4 separate regions of the Homo sapiens genome follow, and all the other regions are linked to region 2. The links are contacts of gene promoters, found by promoter capture Hi-C in blood cells and fetal thymus (Javierre and others, 2016). All regions are on one chromosome and are shown on one strand. Each heading gives the region's core, a stretch centred on a gene start or on the middle of the fragment in contact. The rest is flanking DNA. Distances are from core to core; before and after follow the strand shown. Region 1 overlaps LOC124904486 (a long non-coding RNA gene). Region 2 holds the start of FMOD (fibromodulin). Region 3 has its middle 13 kb from the start of PRELP. Region 4 has its middle 22 kb from the start of CHIT1.

Region 1 (3,840 bases), core at 80-2,579, 82 kb after region 2:
CTGTTTCTCAACACAATGCGAGGTTTCTGGGTCCCCTGTGTGCTCCTGCTGTACCTCATCAGCTCTTAGGTGTGAAGCATCCCTTAGAACTCTGATGAGGTGGCGTTGAAGGAGGGGAGCCACTCTAATGCAGCTTTTCGAACTCATCCATTCCAAAGATGGCTCAGGGCCTTTGCTAGATCCAGAGGCAGCTTGAGGGCGAAAGTCCAGGGCCCTGAGAGGGTGGAAGAGGTGACACTTCTAAGATCCAGGAAACCCCAGCCTCTGCCACAAGACTGGCTGCACAGCTACCCCTGTGGCAGGTGAAGGCAGTGCTCAGGTAGTCCTGGGACTCTTTCTAAACTTCTCTGGCCTGGCCCTCAATGTCCTCTGACAGACTCTAGCTTGCTGGGACACCTCTAAGGAAACTGCCAAGGGAACTGCAGAAGCAGGAGCAGGTGAGAAGTGCCCGGGTGTCTTCTTTCCATGGGGGAATTTGGAGAAGCATTCTGAGCCCAGCAAAGTGTCAGGCAGGCAAGGTAAGGCCTCACCTGATAGGAGGTGTATCCTCGTACCTAGTCTCAGCAAGGAAGGTTGCCAGCTTCATGGCTCTTTTGAGTTAAAAGGGCTGTAAGATCCTTGGTAAACGACCAGAGCCTGAATGTCACAGGGAAGAGGTTGGACTGGGACCCAATACAGCTGCCTATGTATCTGAGAAGACGCTATTTATAAACAGAGAAGGTATTTATTGGCTGGACAATCCTGAGGAAGTCTCCCACTTCTCACTCTCATTCATAAAGTGGGGATCATGATCACTACCTCTCAAGCTTACTGTAACATTGAATGAGGTAATGAATATGAAAACACTCAAAATCTATAAAGTATCTACAAACCTGGAAGATTATAATTCTGCATTTGTACAGTAGAAATAACAGTACCATGGTTGCTATTAGTGCCCAGCCAAATCCCCTTTACTGGTCTGGTGCAACCCTCCATCCCTGCCCACCGGCTGCTGTGAGGTTTGGCTGGTAACAGTTCACAGTTATTCCCTCTGCAGAGACTTCCCCGGGAATGGAAGCTGCCTTACTTGGGGCTTGCAGCCGATGCTTGTCTGACACAGGGGCAGGAAAGGCCAGTCCCCGACCTCAAGACAAGATGAACTCTGGTGTAGCACATGCTTCAGGGATCCCCATGAAATCAGGCCGCAGCTCAGCCACAGCTGACACCACAGCCTGGCTCCCTCCTTCCCCACCCCACTCTCCTTCCTTTTCTTTCTTCTGAGGGTTCTTCCCCAACAGAAGAAGATATGCATGAAATCTGTCCCAGGCTCTGCTTTTAAGGAATCTGGTCCACTTGTCTGCCGTACAAAGTTGCTATGAGGGTTAAATAATATAATACAGATGAAGAGATTAGCCCAGTGCCTGGCATATACAGTGCATATCCAATTAATGTTAAAGATTGCCATTATCCATGAGACTGGAGCATCAGGAACATCTTAGTGTAATAGTGAGGTGTGGAAATCTGGTGAGTGAGTCAGTGGATTGAATTTTACATGCTTAGGGACTGGGGTGGGCAGAGAGAAGGGCAGCTGGGTTTCCTTGGGTATCACTGGTTGTCTCAGCTTTGGGCAGTGAGGGTCCTTTACACAGCTAGGGAAAAGTTCCAGTCATTACATACTTCTACCAGCAGAGGACGCCACTTCCATACAAATAAGTGTTTCCTCTGCTATCTGATGCAGTTTTCATCAAAGCAGTCTAGGCTGGCAGGAAAGATCAGGTACATGACAGAGCAGAAAGTGCCTTCAGATTTGCACAGATAATAGGAGAGGGCAGAACAGGAAGAAACAGTGAGTTAAGCTGTTCAGGAAGCTTCGTGGGAGGTGAGGCCTTGAGCAGGGCACTCTAGCACCAGAAGGAGTATTGAGTGGAGATGGCATTCCCAGGGAAGCCACTACCCTAGGCAAGGTGACCAGGGCCTGAGCCAGGGCCGTGGCAGGGAGGCAGCCACGAGAGGGTATGAAGGACACCAAACACAGGGACAGGACTGATTTCAGCTGAGAGGTCTAGGAGGAGATCATGGGCCCACCAACATGGGGTAGACGTCAGGAAGGAGCACGTTTTTATAGGACAGAGCACACTTCTCCAACTGGTTTGACTGCCCTGTTACAATGTCCTCTGCAAGCCATCATTCTGTAGGATTCCTGTTTTGTGTGGATTCTAGAAACCAGTGAAATATTCAGAGGTGTTAATAGCATCAAGATTTCATTGGTTCTTTCCATTCTTTTTATTTTTATTTTTTGAGATGGGGTCTCAGTCCCTGCCCCAGGCTGGAGTGCAGTGGCACCATCACAGCTCACCACAGCCTCAACACCCCAGGGCTCAGGCGATCCTCCTGCCTCAGCCTCCTGAGTAGCTGAGACCATAGGTACGTACCACCATGCCTGGCTAATTTTACATATATACACATATATGTGTGTATATATAATTATATACGTATATATACACATATATACATATATAATTATATACATATATACATATATACACACACATATATGTGTATATATATACACACATATATATGTATATATACACATATGTATATGTGTGTGTGTGTGTGTGTATATATATATATATATATATATATATATATATTTGAAGAGACAGGGTCTCCTTACGTTGTCCAGACTGATCTTGAACTCCTGGGCTCAAGCGATCCTCCTGTCTCAGTCTCCCAAAGTGCTGGGATTACAGACGTGAGCCACCGCGCCTGGCCAGCTTTTTCCGTTTTGAGTAGAGACGGCAAGAAGCGCCCCACAGCTTGCCCTTGCTTCGGAACTCGGGGTTGTGAATCAGTCAGGATAGAAATTAATGGTGCAGTGGGAATAAAGAGGAATGTTAGATGATCTCGCAGGGGTGGGGGAGAACCCAAAAAGAAAGAACGAACGTGAAGAAGCCTAGCTCTCCGAGACTGGGGTTCAGTCCTTGCTGGAGAAAGTGCGTTGCAGCCCATTGAGGGCAGAAGAGTTCTCTGGGTTGTCCCTGGACAGAACCGGGCCACAGTCAAGAGAGCGAACATTGTGGGGAAGAGAACGGCAGGCCACGGCTCAGGGGCTGGAAGCCCCCTGCTGGGGTGCCCACAAAATTCCTCCGGAAGTTGCTGTTGGGGGATGCGCTGAACTCATGGCAAAGCCACCTAGGACTCACGCAGAACTTGCTGGGAAGCTGCCCCCGGGGAAGTGCGCATGCGGGACTTCGCAGGAAACTGGCTGGGTCAAGTCGGCTCCACCAGGAATCCACCCAAGACGGTGCGGCTGAACTCGCCACTGGGAAACTAAGTGGGACACCCACAGAACTAGCCGTGAAGATGCCTGCGGAAGTGCCCTGAAACTGAGCTGAGAACCCCGGGGGTTCAGAGTCCCGAAAGCAAGTAGGAAGGAAAGCTTAAAGAAACCGCAAGAGAAGTCTCTTCTTCTCTCTGTCCTCTAGCGCCCTCTACTGACACAGTTTAACACTGTGCCCGCTGGCAAGGGAGAAACGTTTGGAGCCAGAGAGTAATAAACTGGTAACTGGTACAGGATGTTAGCCAACTCCACTGAGGATGGGAGAGCTCTTCTATAAGCCCTTTTTGAAAAATAGTACTTGAGGACATAGTCCTGCCAGCTAAGAAACGAATCAAAATAAATAATTCAACAGAAAAAATGTAAAAGAAAAGGCAAAGAACAATCAAATCAATAAAACTAAATGAACGAAATAATTATAATTAATATAATATGAAACTAATCATTATTATTAAAATTAAATATAATAAATATTTCATGATTATAAATTGGGGTTTTTGTATCACAATTTACTTTGACAA
Region 2 (3,700 bases), core at 606-3,105:
TTGATGTTGGCATAAGCCAGTTAACATACTTGAGGAGAGAACATTTAGGACACATGAGTTTATCTAAGCTATTGAGATTCTGTGTGACCCACATTATAATGGTTCTCAAATGTTTTCTTCCAGCCCCTAAACTCCAGATTCAGATTCATATGTCCAACGGTCTACGTGCATCTCCAGGGGAATGCCTAGCAGGCATCTCTAACAGCATATCCAAAATGTAACTTTGGTTTTCTACCCAACTCAGTCCCACGTCACCTTTCCCATGTCAAGAAATGTTACCACCACCTACCCAGTTGCTCAAACTAAAATTCTAGGAATCATCCTTGACTTTTCCTAACTCTGCAAGACTTGTCAGTTCTCTGTCTAAAATATAAGATCTTCTCTTCCATTGCACCAGTCCAATCTGCCATTACCTCTCCTTGAGGCTGGGTTGGAGCCTCCCTGCTTCCACCCTGGCCTCCCCTTCTCCATACAGCAGCCCCTCCTACATGCTTTTAAAATGTAAATTAGATCCCATGCAAATCAGATCCCATGGCTTCTCCTGCTTGAAACATGTTTTTTTTTTTAAACATTTAGAATAGGCCGGACCGGATGACGCACGCCTGTAATCCCAGCACTTTGGGGCACTGAGGTGGGTGGATCACCTGTGTTTAGGAGTTCAAGACCAGCCTGACCAATATGATGAAACCCTGTCTCTACTAAAAATACAAAAAATTAGCTGGGCGTGGTGGCGTGTGCCTGTAGTCCCAGCTACCCAGGAGGCTGAGGCAGGAGAACGGCTTGAACCTGGGAGGCGGAGGTTGCAGAAAGCAGAGATTGTGCCACTGCACTCCAGCCTGGGCGACACAGCGAGACTCCTTTTCGATCTCCTGACCTCATGATCCTCCTGCCTCGGCCTCCCAAAGTGCTGGGATTACAGGCATGAGCCACCACGCCCAGCTGAGACTCCTTCTCAAACAAACAAACAACAACAACAACAACAAAAACATTTAGAATAAAAACCAAATCACTTCCATCGCCCAAAAGTCCTTTCATGGTACAGCTCCTGCCCAGCTTTCTGATCTTGTCTTTCCCTGGCTGAGGAATTCTATGGCTGTGAAATGGGTAGGACACAGTGAACCTCAGCTATGTGCCAGGTCAGGAGCCTCCCACACATCACCTGATACAGTCCTTGCTACAACCCAGCAAGGTAAGTGTTATTAACTCTGAATTTGTTGTGAGCATTAAGTGGAAGTGGATGATGCTAGTGCATAAGCAGTGATCAGCAAATGCTGGAGTCCCTGCCTTTCCTTTTGTTCCAGTGGTGGAGGTGGGCAGGACCTGTAGCCTAGAAAAGTCTACACTGCTTAGGGATAGAACTGGAACCAGAGCCGGCTGTCCCTTGTCATTCATGCTCCCTTATCCACTAGCCTGATGACCTGTCTATAGGGGGAGCTGAGAAGCGCGAGTTCTCGCTCTCTGGAGGGACATGTGGGTTGCTGAAGGAGTTAAGATGTCTCTTACCAAACCCTGGCCCTCCCCATCCCTGCATCTGCCTTTGTGGCTTTAATGAGAAATCCAGGCGCTTCATAAGAGACTGTACAAATAACTTCTAGGGCGCCACTAACTCATTCAGCAGAAAGGGACCCAGGGCTGCCAATGTTTCAGGGAAGATAAGTGAGTGGAAAAAAGGTGGTTTTTATAGCGTCAGGCGGACCGAAGGATTTGCGTGGTTGAGCGTGAACTCCGCCCCTGCAGCAGAGCTGAAAAAAACCAGGATCCGGGTTCCTCAGCCCCTTTTCACAATATTTGATTAGGAATTTGGGGCGGGACCCTGGTCTGGCACAGGCACGCACACTCTCAGTAGACTCTTTCACTCCTCTCTCTCTTCCTCTCTCACACGTTCTCCAACCCAAGGAGGCCAGACAGAGGGACGTGGTCACTCTCTGAAAAGTTCAACTTGAGGTAAGTATAGTCGTTTTACTTCGGGTTTGTCCCTAGCAGTTCCTTAAAAGAAATAAAGGAAAAGTGGTAGGGGATAGGGGAGATGGGGAGGCAGGGAGGGTTCATTCCTCCTTCTCCACATCTGGGCCATGACCCCAGGGATGCTGGAGAGTGGCAGAGAGGGTGTATAAGGGAGGGGTTCCAGCCCTGTACCTTTCTCTTACAGTTCCTTTATGGGTGCTGAGGGGACCTCCAATTCTCAGGCATGAAAAAGTGAAGGACCCTCTGTCTAGGGAAGCTTCTTCCCTGCTACTCATAAATCCCATCATGCTGGGAGTGTGGGCATTTTGAAGGGTATTCCAAGACCTGGATGTCCCTGCAATCTCTCTTATAGAGGGGTTTGGTACATAAATGCTATTATGGGAGAGGGGGAAACTTTTGTGTAGAATGTGTGTGTGTGTGTGTGTGTGTGTGTGTTTGGAGTGGAAAGGAGAGAATAAAAAGAAGCATTGAGAACTGGCCATGTCCAGGGAGCTGTGGATTGGGGTGGGGATGCAATCCAGGTGAGGGGATGGCCTCTGGCTTGACCTTCTCCACTGATAGGAGGGAGAGATCTTTCTCTAGAGTGGAGAAATGAAAGAACAGCAGTAGCTCCTGAGTAAACTTCCCCCAGCTGATAGTGTGGCAGTCCTGGAAACTTTCGACCTTACAGAAACTCTGAGCACAGGAGGGCCTCTAGCATTATGGGAAACAGTGTAAGACTATGCAACCCTGAAGCAACATTGCTAAGAGATGGGATGGGGTAAGGAGAGGCATAAGCTCCCCATCAAACCCTTTCAGCACCCATGGCTCTAAGAAGAGGCTGAAGTGGGCAGGGTGCACAGCCCCTAGAAAGCTGAGTCTGAAGGGGAAGGTGGCTCTTGTCTGCCAAGGTGCCCAGTCTGAAAGAAGGAGAAACGGAGACAGAGGCTCACTGTGCCAGCCCTCCAGACAGCCACCTTGGTCCTGCAACAGCCCAGGGCTGTGCATGGAAAAATGCTCTGTTGGCAGTGGGCCGCTCCATTCGTCTTCTCTCCTGGCCAGAGCCAGGAACCAGCCAGCTTGCCCAGGCAGTGGGCAGTTGGGTCAGCTTCTCCAAAACACTGTGGCTCTTTGTCTGAGGCCTGAGGCTGCCTGTGGATGAGCCAGGGTGCCTGCTCCTCTGCAACCTAGGAACTGATGGGATGAAGTGGGCCCAAGGAAACTGTTTTGAGGGGACAGAGAGGTCTGGGATGGATGGTGGTCAGGAGGTAACTCTGTTGAGTGTCATAGTTGGGGTCTTTCCCATCAGTTCACTGGATCTGATGATGTTGGCTTTTATACTCCTTTCTTTCTTCTGTTTACAGTTGCCAACCCCAGTAGGCCCAACAGCAATGTGAGGGCTGTATGTGACTCTTCCAGGCCAAGAAAGATTCTAAGGTTTCTCTGTCCAAGGGTGACACTCAGGAAGATGCCCACTGCTCACAGGAGTATGTCATGCATTGGCTATAGGTAACCAGGGTAGGGTACCCAGGCCACCCCTAGTCTCTTACCTTCCATACCTTTAGTTTCCCTCTCAGATGACATCAGACCCACATTTCCTCTTCAGTCTGCCCTGTTCCTATCTCATTAGCACAACAGGTTCAAAAGCAACAGGTTTCCAGCAATGTGGGGACCTAGACACAGAGCCTGGTCATCTAGGTGTCATCGCTGGGAGCAGGTAGCTTGGGAAAGGAGAGGAGAATGTCAGGGTCCTACC
Region 3 (3,784 bases), core at 128-2,627, 110 kb before region 2:
TGTCTCTATTCACAGGGAGGGTGGGCCAAGGGGAATTTGGTTCCTGAGGCTGTTACACTCTGATTGCTGTGGACCTGAGACCGTTTCCCTCTCTCCTCCTTCCTCCCTCCTCCTCCTCCTTCCTCCCTCTCTGGCTCTTTCTCTTCTTTTCCTCTCCCTGCCTTTTCTTTCTCCCTCCTGTCTTCGTGCCTCCCACTTTTCTCCCATTCCTCCATCTGCCAACCCTTTCCTCCCCTCCGGCTGTGCACTCTAAGCTCCCTCCTTGCTCTCTGCTCCTTCTTCTTCTCTCCTCTGTCTTTGGGCTACTCTAGCGGCTGAGCTTAGGGAGGGGATATGAAATTCATTAGCTGCCACATTGCAGTGGGATTAAATCATTCTGGCAGCTTCTCCGACATCACTCTTCTCTCCATTAGGGCCCTCACAGAGCTACAGGCACCTCCTGGAGCCCTTCAGTCCTGCTCCCTGGTCTGGCCTTGACTCTACTCCAGTTCCTGTTGCCCAGAGCCAGGCCCCATCCCTCATCCGGAGCCCATGGTGGGTGGGCGTGGAGGTGGTTCAAAGCCTGCTCACTCCAGCTTCTCCTCTAGGGGTTTCCCTCCCAGGCTCTAAGCCCTGAATTGGGCGCTGATTTGACCAAGGGAAAGCACCCTTTTTCTTCTTTTCTCCCTTGGCTCCTGAGCCTATCTTCAGGTGCCCTGCTGCCCTCCTGTGGGGGCTTCTGTGCCAGCCCTGCCAGGTCCCTCCACCACCCATCTTTTTCCTCTCTGGTCACTCGGGCCTTTTGCGTGACAGCTTCTGCTCTCACAGAGTCCCCAAGCCACCCTCAGAGGAGTGATCTAAATTACTCAGGCTCCCCCTTTAGAATAAAAGCTCGATGAGGGCTTACAGTATATCCCAGCACCCTGCAGGCCTGGCATTCATTTGACAAACATTTACTGAGCACCTATTATGTGGGTGGCACTATAGTAAGCTCCGAGGGTATAGCTGGGAAGAAAACAGACATCATCCTTGTCCTCCTGAGGTGTTCGGTCCAGTGGAAAATACAGGAATAAACAAACACATAAATGAACATAAGCATATCACAACTGGTGGTGCTATGAAGCAGGGAAAGGACACGTAGTAAGTCCTTAAAGGAATGCATGAATCATGAATTAACTCCACATTTTTTTTTTTTTTTTTGAGACGGAGTCTTACTCTGTCACCCAGGCTGGAGTGAAGTGGCGCAATCTCGGCTCACTGCCACCTCTGCCTACTGATTTCAAGTGATTCTCCTGCTTCAGCCTCCCAAGTGGCTAGGACTATAGGCACATGCCACCACACCTGGCTAATTTTTTTATTTTAGTAGAGATGGGATTTCACCATGTTGGCCAGGCTGGTCTCAAACTCCTGGAATCTTGTGATCCACCTGCCTCGGCCTCCCAATATGCTGGGATTACAAGCGTGAACCACTGTACCCGGCCAACTCCACTTTTTTTTCTATTTCCTTTTCTACTTTGCTTCCAAGCCTGCAGGCTGGTCTGGTCTGTGCCACCTAAAAATATCTCTAATTATATCCTGTCCTAAATTATTCTCCCATTTGTTCCTCTTGTATTATTAGTTTTGTCTCACAATTAATAATACTAATACATTTCCATGCATTAAATGGCTATTATGTGCCAGGCAATATGTTAAGAATCTTAATGTATGGCCTTATTTTGATTTTTATTTCTACTTTAAAGGAAACTGAAACTCAGATTAAATAACCTGTCAAAAGCCACACAGCTAGCACCAGGAGAAGATCCATGTCTTATACTTCTTCACTGCTCCATGGGGCCAGGGGCCCCCAAGATCCCACAAGAGAAGCTGGAGAACCAGGCTGGTGGGGAGTGGGGGACCTGGAGACACAGCCGCTGCTAGTCCAGCAAGAGTGAGGTTGGCACCCTCCCTGCTCCATCAAGGATTCTCCCCTGGTGCCCTCATATACACTCTGGCACCCAAAAAAAAAACTCTGATCTCCAGGCCATGCCACCCACCTCCCAGTGCCCCCACCATCTTCACTTTCATGTTTCCCTGCCTTCCCTCCCTTGCATCAAGGTCTGCCCACAAAAGCAGCAGGAGCAAAGCATTCTGGCTCCTTCTCTTCTTGTAAGATGAGGCTTTCTTTTCTAAGAGGCTTCCCCGGGTTTATCCTATCCATCTTCAACTCGAGCTCCTCGGTTCCTCCAGACCCATTTCCATTTAGCCCTGGATCTATTCTGATAAACAACTCTACCCCACGTGCTACCTACTGACCCATCTTAATAACTATACACGCTCATTAACACTGCATTTATAAAAAGGGGCTTTCCCACCATCTATAATTAGACTCTGGGCTCCACAGGTGGCTGGGATGGTAAACACCACCTAGCCTTTACACTCCCCATCAGGGGTCCACTGCAGGGCCTCTTGCCACTGTATAATTCATTCTGTACCAGAAGCCAGAGTTCTTACTTTTTAAATCAATTTTTAAAAATTATAATTTGCATAGAGTAACAGGTTACAAATAGGTACCCATTTGAAGTATACAGCTTGACAAACTTTGACACATATGTGTATGTATATATACCCATGCAACCACCACCCCAATCAGATGTATTGAAAAATGTTTTAAATTGAGAAAAATTATATATATTTAGGTTATACAACATAATGTGTGTGTATACATAACATACATTATGTTGTATAACCTAAATATATACAGTTACACACATACACATTGTAGAATGGCTAAATTGAGCTAATTAATATATAAATTATCTCATGTACTTCTCATTTTTTGTGGTGAGCATAAAAAAATGTATTCTCTTAGCAATTTTCAGTACACAATATATTCCTGTTAACTACAGTCACCGTCATGTACAATAGATCTCTTAAACTTACTCTTCCTTTCTAACTGAAATTTTGTATCCTTCGACCAACATCTCCCCAACACTTCCACCCCCATCCAGCCCCTGGTCACTGCCATTCTGCTCTCTGCCTCTATGGTTTCAACTTTTTTAGATTCCACATATAAGTGAGGCCATATGGTGTTTGTTTTTATGTGCCTGTCTTGTTTCACTTAACATAATGTCTTCCAGGTTCATCCATGTTCATGCAAATGACAAGGTTTCCTTCTTTAATGCTAAATAATATTCCACTGTGTATGTACAGCACATTTGCTTTATCTGTTCGTCAATCAATAGATACTTAGGTTGATTCCACATTGGTTATTGTGAATAGTGCTGCAGTGTACATGGGAGTGCAGATATCTCTTCGATATACAGTAGCCCCTTCTTATCCAAAGTTCTGCTTTCTGTGGTTTCAGTTACACACCACCACCAATGGCCTGAAAATATTAAATGGAAAATTACAGAAATAGACAATTCTTTTTTTTTTTTTTTGAGATAGAGTCTCCCTCTGTTCCCCAGGCTGGAGTGCAGTGGCTGATCTCGGCTCACTGCAACCTCCGCCTCCTGGGTTTAAGTGATTCTCCTGCCTCAGCCTCCTGTGTAGCTGGGACTACAGGTGCCCACCACCACGCCAGGCTAATTTTTGTATTTTTAGTAGAGACAGGGTTTCACCATATTGGCCAGTCTGGTCTCGAACTCCTGACCTTGTGATCCGCCCGTCTCGGATCCCAAAGTGCTGGGATTACAGGTGTGAGCCACCGCGCCCGGCCGACAATTCATAAGTTTTAAATTGTGTACTGTTCTGAGTAACATGATGAAATCCTGCACTCTCCCGCTTCATCCTGCTGGCGATATGAATCCGCCCTTTGTCCAGCATA
Region 4 (3,373 bases), core at 513-3,012, 99 kb after region 2:
TCTGAATCTACAATTGTCCCAGTGGTACTGAATTACTTATCTGATGATTAAGAATGAAAGAGCCGTTTTCTTTGCAGTCCAAAGGCAAACTTCTGTAGGGAATTCTAGCTAGGGAAAGTGTTATACCCTCTTCTTATTAGTTTCCCCCAGGGAGGAAAGAGTGTGTCTATGGAGAAATCTAATTACAATTTTCTTTGCCCTTTTTGAAATACAAAGGGACAGATTTTCCCCTAATTTATCTATGGAGACACACCTATGTAAGAGAACAGGCAAACAAGTAAGCAAGCAAGCAGTTTTTCTGAATTAAGGGGCTTTAATCAGGAAACCACCACATGGTACTCATTAAAAGTAGATTGTTAAAACATTAAGAGGTTATGTTTCACGTAATTGCAATGGTTACCACAAAGACAGTAACTATAGAATGTAAGTGCTATGATTTGAATATGGTTTATCCCCCACTGAAATTCATGTTAAGGCTTGTTCCCCATGTAATGGTGTTGAGAACTGGTGGGACCTTTAAGAGGCATTTGGGTCATAAGCCATCTGTCCTTATGAAGGGATTAATGCCATTTCACAGGAGTGAATTATTGCTCTTCAGTGACTGGATTAGTTACCGCAAGAGTGGGTTGTTATAAAGTGAGGTCACCCCTCATGTTTTCTCTCTTGTGTGTGTACCCGCTCAGTGCTCTCACATGCATAACCACCATGTGATGCCATCCTCCATGTTATGACACAGCATGAGACCCTCGTCAGATGCAGCTGTTTGATCTTGAACTTCCCAGCATCAAGAACTGTGAGCTAAACAAACCTCTTTTTAAAAAATAAATTACCTGGTCTCAAGTATTCTGTTACAGCAACAGAAAATGGACAAAGACTGTAAAGGAAAGGAAGTGAGAAGGGAATCAAAATCTGTGGCCACAAAAAAAAATTAATGAAACACAAAAGAAATTATCAAAAGAAAAAAGGGGGGGGGGACAAAGAAAGCTACAAGTGAAACAGAACACAATGAACAAAATGGCAACAGTAAGTCCTTCACTATCAGCAATTTCTTAAAATGTAAATGCCATTATGAGCAATTATATGCCAACAATTGGATTTGGCAATAATTTCTTGGATATGATACCAAAAGCACAGGCAACAAAATAAAAAATAGACAAATAGTACTACATAAAACTTAAGTTTTTTTACACATCAAAGTAACAGTCAACAGAGAGAAAAGGCAACCTATGGAATGGGAGAAAAGAGTTGCAAGTCATATATCTGATAAGGGGTCAATATCCAGAATATATAAGGATCTTGTACAACTTAACAACAAGAAAAACCCCAAATAATCCAATTTAAAAACTGGCAAAGGATTTAAATAGACATTTCTCCAAAGAAGATATATGAATGGTTATTAAGTACATGAAAATATGCTCAACATCATTAATCACTAGGGAAATGTAAATAAAACTCACAATGAGATATCACCTCACACCCATCAGGATAGCCATTATAAAAATAACAGGAAATAACAAGTGTTGACAAGGATGCAGAGAAGTTTGGGTCCTCATGCACTGGTGGTGGGAAAGTAAATTATACAGATGTTATGAAAAACAGTATGGAGTTTCTCAAAACATTAAAAATAGAACTATCATATGATCCAGCAATCCCCCTTTTGGGTATATAGCCAAAAAGCTTCAAAGCAGATCTCAGAGATATTTGCACACCCATGTTCATTGCAGGATTATTCACAATAGCCAACAGGAGGAAATAACAGGTAATTGGATAAGAAAATGTGGTATATGCACATAATGGAATTTTATGTGCCCTTAAAAAAGGGCATGTTACAACATGAATGAAGCTTAAGGACATTATGCTAAGTGAAATAAGCCAGTCACAAATGGACAAATACTGTATAATTCACTCATATAAAGTATCTAAATAAGTCAGAATCCTCAAAACATAAAGTAAAAAGGTAGTCGCCAAGAACTTGCGGGAGGTGGGATGGGGAATTCATGTTTGGTAGGTATAGAGTTTCAGTGTTGCAAGAAGAAAAATTTCTAGAGACTTGTTGCACAAGTGAATATACTTAACAGTACTGAAATGTACATTTAAAAATGTTTAGGATGGTTTAATGTTGTGTGGTTTTTACCACAATACAAAAAAAAAGACTCAGCTAAGAAAACGAACAGGCAAAACCAAAGGCTGGTAGAAAACATTCACAGTACATATATCTGAATATGGATTTCTATCCAGAATAATAAAGAACTTCTAACACAATAAAAATGTGGATGACAGACTTGAGCAACATTTTCAGAAGCAAACAAAGACATATGAATGGACAAAGACATATAAAAAAAGTGCTCGACATCATTACTCAGCAGGCAAAGGCAAATTAAAGCCATAATGAATCACTACATGCCTACTAGAATGTCTAAAATTATAAAGACTGTCAACACCACATGTTGGCAAGCATTTGACATAACAAAAACTCTCACGTTGCTCTTGGATGTGTGAAATGGCACAATTACTTTGAAAAGTTGCTTGCTTGGTAGCTTCTTATTAAACATAAAGCTAGCTGATGACTCTAATTTTACACCTGTGTATTTATTCAAAGTAAATGAAAACATATGTCCACGAAGAGACGTATACATAACTGTTCATAGAAGCTTTGCATTTCTGATAGCCAAAACTGGAAATAACCCAATGTTTATGAAGTGGGATATATTCATAAAATACAATACTTCTTGCAATTAAAAGAAACAGACTACTGATAACAACAAAATGGATGAGTCTCAAAAACTTTATGCTGACTGAAACAAGCCAACATTAAAGAGCTCTCGGTGGCCAAAGCTGGAAAAATTTGAGCAGCAAAATAAATAATGTACTAATAGTATTTGATTATAACTCAAAACATAAATAAATATCTATGAGTCCATATGGATATAAATAAATGATATAGTAAATAAATGGGAGAGAAGGGACAAATGTCCCATACAGAATTATATAATAAAGGTATGTAGTTGCTTCTTCCCCAAGGAAGTGGAGCTTAACTCCTCACCCCTAGAGTGTGGGCTGCACTTACTGACTCGCTTCCAAAGAGTAGAATAGGGAAGCCAGGTGGAGAAGTAGAAACCTGGCAAATAGTATCCCGGCCTGGTAATCAAGATTAAAAAGATCAGTTATGTGGATAATACCTACCTTTTAGTTTTAGTTTTTTGAGACAAGGTCTCACTCTGTCACCAGGCTGGAGTGCAGTGGTAAGATTTCTGTTCACTGCAACCTCTGCCTCCTGGGTTCAAGCGATTCTCCTGCTTCAGCCTCCCAAGTGGCTGGGATTACACGTGCATGCCACCATGCCTGGCTAATTTTTGTATTTTTAGTAGAGACA

What was found. The method cuts DNA at HindIII sites, captures the fragments that hold promoters and counts their contacts. A CHiCAGO score of 5 or more calls a contact.
Region 1: a contact is called between a fragment that was not itself captured here and the fragment with the promoter of FMOD in region 2, in 2 of 17 cell types (naive B cells and total CD8 T cells). The highest score is 5.6, in naive B cells.
Region 3: a fragment that was not itself captured here is called in contact with the fragment with the promoter of FMOD in region 2 in 8 of 17 cell types (naive B cells, M1 macrophages, total B cells and 5 more); the score reaches 9.5 in naive B cells.
Region 4: a fragment that was not itself captured here is called in contact with the fragment with the promoter of FMOD in region 2 in 5 of 17 cell types (total CD8 T cells, activated CD4 T cells, naive CD4 T cells and 2 more); the score reaches 5.6 in total CD8 T cells.

What each region holds. Positions count from the first base shown.
Region 1 is chr1:203,267,081-203,270,920 of GRCh38, reverse strand. It overlaps LOC124904486 (a long non-coding RNA gene), which reads left to right. Exons shown (of 2, transcript XR_007066798.1): 2 at 1-3,807. Among named protein-coding and RNA genes, the nearest start is that of LINC01353, 18 kb to the left of the region's middle. The HindIII fragment of the contact is 1,041 bases long and covers 809-1,849 here.
Region 2 is chr1:203,349,277-203,352,976 of GRCh38, reverse strand. It overlaps FMOD (fibromodulin), which reads left to right and starts at 1,855. Exons shown (of 3, transcript NM_002023.5): 1 at 1,855-1,944. The HindIII fragment of the contact is 3,247 bases long and covers 1-2,223 here.
Region 3 is chr1:203,460,467-203,464,250 of GRCh38, reverse strand. No RefSeq gene overlaps it. Among named protein-coding and RNA genes, the nearest start is that of PRELP, 13 kb to the left of the region's middle. The HindIII fragment of the contact is 5,337 bases long and covers 1-3,784 here.
Region 4 is chr1:203,250,121-203,253,493 of GRCh38, reverse strand. No RefSeq gene overlaps it. Among named protein-coding and RNA genes, the nearest start is that of CHIT1, 22 kb to the right of the region's middle. The HindIII fragment of the contact is 166 bases long and covers 1,680-1,845 here.